Regions from separate parts of the Homo sapiens genome. Here region 2 is linked to region 1. Evidence: promoter capture Hi-C in human tissues and cell types (Jung and others, 2019). All regions are on one chromosome and are shown on one strand. The core of a region is centred on a gene start or on the middle of the fragment in contact, and the rest is flanking DNA. Distances in the headings are between cores, read along the strand shown.

What was found. Contacts are between HindIII fragments. The study calls those that stand out against the background at their distance.
Region 2: a fragment that was not itself captured here is called in contact with the fragment with the promoter of PARP14 in region 1 in 1 of the 25 tissues and cell types used here (pancreas).

Annotation. Positions count from the first base shown.
Region 1 is chr3:122,679,502-122,682,256 of GRCh38, reverse strand. PARP14 (poly(ADP-ribose) polymerase family member 14) reads right to left here and starts at 1,418. Exons shown (of 17, transcript NM_017554.3): 1 at 1,187-1,418. The coding sequence starts at 1,373. RefSeq lists enhancers at 680-769, 1,311-1,710, 1,135-1,907, 2,311-2,430 and a silencer at 1,021-1,070. The HindIII fragment of the contact is 18,937 bases long and covers 1-2,755 here.
Region 2 is chr3:122,290,121-122,292,875 of GRCh38, reverse strand. CASR (calcium sensing receptor) reads right to left here. Exons shown (of 7, transcript NM_000388.4): 7 at 1,247-2,755. Among named protein-coding and RNA genes, the nearest start is that of CSTA, 34 kb to the left of the region's middle. The HindIII fragment of the contact is 3,234 bases long and covers 1-2,755 here.

The DNA of each region.
Region 1 (2,755 bases), core at 169-2,668:
AAGTGGGGAAAACCCTCAAGGAAAAGTGACACCCAAAAGAGAAATGACTAATATCACACAGTTGCCCTTCTGAGCACTCCTTGGTAAAATTAATCCTAGGAAAACATGGTATTTTGTTTTCATAAGGGCCATGAGCCAAGCATATCTCCTGTCCCCCTCCTTCCTTCCTTCTGTGCGCCATTCTTTTTCTGTTTCATTTTTCCTTTTTGGATCCCTGCTTGGGCACTCTAATTGCATGGCCTCAGCCTCAGCCTCCTTGCCTCTCCTCTGGCCCGAATGCTTCTCCAAATCTAGCGACATGAAAGCGGAATTAGGGGTTGACTAGATCCCGATAGGTCATCATCCATAAGATGCCAGTGGAAAAGGTGCCCATTCTGGGAGCTGCAGGTCACTGGCTTCCCATTGCAGACCAGGGAGGCCCTTGAGCCAGCAGATCACCTCTGGGCTCTTGGCCCACCAAGTAGTGGTGGGTCTGTAAGGAGGGAACTTTGCCGACTTTCCCTCCAAAGCTCAAATCTCCCAACCCACAATCACTTCAGAATATCATCCTTGCTCCCAATCTGAGGGCCACTAGAGACTCGGAGAAGAGGCCCCGGCAGGCCCTCGACAATGGGCACCTGTGGTCGATCGACAGCCCCTCCAATGTGGCCGCTGTGACGGCTCTACGTTGACATTCAGGCAGTGTGATTTTAGGTAGCGCCTCTGCCCCTCTCCCAAGTGACCCCGGGACCCCTGGGAATCTCCAAGAACCACAAGGAATCTCTGTGACTTGCCACGTTTCTTAATCAGTTTCCTTCCCCACACAAGAATAATAACAACAGGAAAAGACAGAAAAGGATGATAAGAGGATAGACTCACTTCCACAACAACAACAACAAACAATAACACCACCACAACAGGGAAAGACAGAAAACGATCGAGGGATAAAGAGTTACTTGCGCGGTTCCGCCGCCACCTCCGGGCCGCGCCATTAAGCGCCTGGAAGCGCAGGGCGCCGGGGAACCGCAGCGCCCCGGGTGCGCTCGGAATCCATTCTGCCGCCCCCGCCCCCGCCCCCGCCCCGGCCACCTCCGCTACAGCAGCCGCCGAAGTCGGGCGGGTCACCCTCCCGTGCGTGCCCTGCCGCCATTTCCCTGGAGGGAGGGCAGAGGTGCCCCCTCCTCACCCCACCCCTCGCGCCCCTCACCGTCCTCCGGGTAGAAGAACACCAGGAAGCGGGATGGGCTCCTGGGATCCTGGCGGACCTCACACTCGCCGCCTCCCGACCTCTTCGGGCTCTGGAAGTACATCTGCAACTTGGTGTTCAAGTTCTTCGGGGGGTCGGGGCCCCAGGAGCCCTCGACCAGCAGCGGGAAGGAGCCGGGCACAGCCATCCTCAGCTCCGCTCTCCGCCGGACTGCAGGGGCCGCGCCAACTCCGGGCCGCTAACTTTGACTCTTTCGCTTTCGTTTCCTGGAAAACTCCCAGGCCTTGGTTTCCTTTTGCCTTCAGCCTAACACAGCGGACCCAGGAATGGCAGAGTCATCCCCCGCCCACCTCCCCACCTTCGCATTCGGCCCACAGCCAAGGCCAAAGTAACCCTTTGGGGCTGGCCAGCGGCGCCCCGGGAAGGCGGCCTCAGTTCACCTGTGCTCCACGGGCTCCCACACCCCCTCCTAACTCCGGGCCCCCTACCTGCCGCTCGCCCCAACCGCAGATCAAGTCGGCAGCTTTGGGGCACCAGACCTTGCCCAAACGCAAAGATCATTTAATTTTTGCCGCAAGCCGACCCTTTACAAAAGAATAAAATGACTCACAAACTGTGGCCCCTTTAGAATGTTTGCTGCCTATTTGGGGACTTTTTCAGCAATCATTGTGATTATCAGAATTTTACGTTGCTTTCCCTGTTTTGCTTTCTGTTCCTTGATCTGTTAATACTACATGTCTAGAAATGTGGGGGAAACAATTACACTCACAGTTTTTTTTGTGGAATATTTACTAGGCGCCATGCACTCACTCACTGAACCCTCGCTGAGCTCACGGAGCTATGGTGAACACAGTGGGCAATAGGTGCTCTGGGAAAGAATATACTTGTGTTCCTGGAACAGATGAGGAGTGGCTCCTAGTCCAGCTGTGGCGGCTCAGGGAGGGTTTATAGGGCGGTGACATGTAACCTGATAACCCCAGGATATCAGGGGATAGCCTTGGAGGGTTAGGAAGTGGGGTTCCACGGTGTGATTCACATGTACAGGATCACTCCGGCTGCTGCGTGGTGGCTAGAGTGGAGGCAGAGAGATCAGCCAAGTGGCTACCATAGTGTCCTAAGTGAGAGACAAGGGTGGCTGAGACTGGGGTGCTGGCAGAGAAGAACTGAGAAAACGAGGATTCTCAATTAATAGTGAAAGCAGGACTTGCTGAAGAATGTGAGCCTTGAGAGAAGGAGAAGCTCAAGGATGACTCCATGGTCAGCCATGGATGGCCCGTGCAAGTGGCTGGATAATAGTGGCATCTGCAAGAGGGGAGGCCGAGTGATGGGAGAGAAGCTGGGGCTGTGTGTTTCCTTGACCCCAAATAAAGCAGTGTTGCAAGTCGAGGGGGGCGGGGGGATTATCATTCCAGTGCTACCGATACCTCAGGTCAGAGAAGTGTCTGCTGGACTGCTGAGGAGCGGCAAGCATAGTCTCCTGGTGAGGAGGGAGGAGAGGGAGATGGCAGCTACTGAAGACTGAAAGGGAGGGAAGGAAGTGGAAGCAGAGAGCGTAACACGCTCTTTGCA
Region 2 (2,755 bases), core at 131-2,630, 390 kb after region 1:
GTGTTTTTCATGTTGTGTTTGATCTTAAAAATCTTTGTTTTGGGGTGGTAGACACTGCGGACGGGCTTGTTCAGTAGCCACTCTGACCCTCTTCTAGCAGGTCTTCCTCCACTATAGAGGCTGGGAAACAAATGCTACATTTCCAGACTCCTTGACAGCCAGGGCTCTGCATGTGGCTGATATGAGACTTGGAAAGTTGGTGTGAGTGGGGCCAAGCACAGGCAGAGGGATTTGGTTCCTCCAGCTTCAGTGAAGGTTCCAGTGTCCTGTTCTCTGTGTCTTGGTGCTAAGTGGAAGGCAGGGGAGGTTATGAAGCTTTTGCCAGAACACCCTCATAGGGGGATTAGGTATTTCTCCTGGGTGAATTGATCCTGATTGTATAGCAACTAAATTTGGATCACTGAGCCTCCCAAAATGTTATAAGCTTCCTAATACCATATAACAAGTACCTTTCTGCTTGAACTAGTTAGAGTGAATTCTATTGCCTCCAACTAAGAAACCTGACAGAAGAAATCATTGCATTCCATGGTACTTCCTGAGATTTCAAAAGCAAATTCTCTAAGCTTCAGTCACCCATGGTTTTAATAATTATTTATATTTTGCCTATATTCCTGAAGTTCCTTTCAAATCACTTGTTTTATTTGGCAAACAACCATAGTTGGTAATTATGGCAGGTAATAGTCTATCTACTTTTCTTTTTTTGAGACAAAGTCTGGCTCTGTTGCCCAGGCTGGAGTGCAGTGGCTACATCTTGCTTCATTGCAACCTCTGCCTCCTGGACCCAAGGGAGCCTTCCACCTCAGCCTCCCAAGTAGCTGGGATTACAGGTGCATGCCATCATGCCCAGCTAATTTTTTGTATTTTTTGTACAGATGAAGTTTCACCATGTTGCCCAGGCTTGTCTCACACTCCTGACCTCAAATGATCCTCCTGCCTTGGCCTCCTAAAGTGCTGGGATTACAGGCATGAGCTACCATGCCTGGCCTATGTACTTTTCATAGTGGAAAGTGAGACAAAGAAAGCTTAAGTGCCTCATCCAAAGACGTGTAACTTATCTGTCATACTGCCTAGAATCCCCCTCTTTTCCACTATTCTATGTCCTCGGCCCGTTCAGAAATTTAAAAGTCCCATGAAACTCTTGGGAGCTAATTAGAGCTCTGGAAAAATTTGTAGGAGGGGTGACTGACCCAATATGGTGATTCCTATCTAATATGATATGCTTATCTGTTTAAAATTTGGTTGCATGTTTATTTTAAATTCTTTTCTTTATTTTCCTGTTATAATTTTGTGCTTAATATACAAAACTTGGGAAAAATTTAGAAAATCCTAAAGAAGCAGAAACAATTATCCATTAGTCCACTACCAAGCAATCTTCATTTATAATGCTCATCATCACTGGCCATCAGAGAAATGCAAATCAAAACCACAATGAGATACCATCTCACACCAGTTAGAATGGCGATCATTAAAAAGTCAGGAAACAACAGGTGCTGGAGAGGATGTGGAGAAATAGGAACACTTTTACACTGTTGGTGGGACTGTAAACTAGTTCAACCATTGTGGAAGTCAGTGTGGCGATTCCTCAGGGATCTAGAACTAGAAATACCATTTGACCCAGCCATCCCATTACTGGGTATATACCCAAAGGATTAGAAATCATGCTGCTATAAAGACACATGCACACATATGTTTATTGTGGCACTATTCACAATAGCAAAGACTTGGAACCAACCCAAATGTCCAACAACGATAGACTGGATTAAGAAAATGTGGCACATATACACCATGGAATACTATGCAGCCATAAAAAATGAGGAGTTCGTGTCCTTTGTAGGGACATGGATGAAGCTGGAAACCATCATTCTCAGCAAACTAATACAAGGACAAAAAACCAAACACCACGTATTCTCACTCATAGGTGGGAATCGAACAATGAGATCACATGGACACAGGAAGGGGAACATCACACACCAGGGCCTATTGTGGGGTGGGGGGAGGGGGGAGGGATAGCATTAGGAGATATACCTAATGGTAAATGACGAGTTAATGGGTACAGCACACCAACATGGCACATGTATACATATGTAACAAACCTGCACGTTGTGCACATGTACCCTAAAACTTAAAGTATAATAAAAAAAAAAGAATAAAGAAAAATTTGGAGGAGGGGTGACTGACCCAGTATGGTGATTCCTATCTAATATGATATACTTATCTGTTTAAAATTTGGTTGCATGTTTATTTTAAATTCTTTTCTTTATTTTCCTGTTATAATTTTGTGCTTAATGTACAAAACTTGGGAAAAATTTAGAACATCCTAAAGAAGCAGAAACAATTATCCATTAGTCCATTACCAAGCAATCTTCATTTATAATGAGTGTATATTTATAATTTATAAGTTTCTCATTTATAATGAGAGGTCAGATAGAAACAAAACATTTAAAGAAAATCAGGACATTCTGAACAATAACCACATCTTTGGGTTGATATCAACGAAGACAATCACATTCTTCCAAAAACATTTCCTGATGCCTTTACAGGAAATCCTGTAATGACCCCAGGGTTTATTCTTGGGCTTTGATCTCTTACCTATTTTCACCAAACTTGAAAATATTTGCCATCCATGTGCTGAAACTTCAGTCACAGAGTTTGCTGCTTTTATTTGTTCTAACTTCCTGCGCTATCTAGTTACCCAGGTGCCCACATTTTAGAGGCAGGGAGCTGGTGCTGTATCTCTATTATTCCCCCCGCCTCT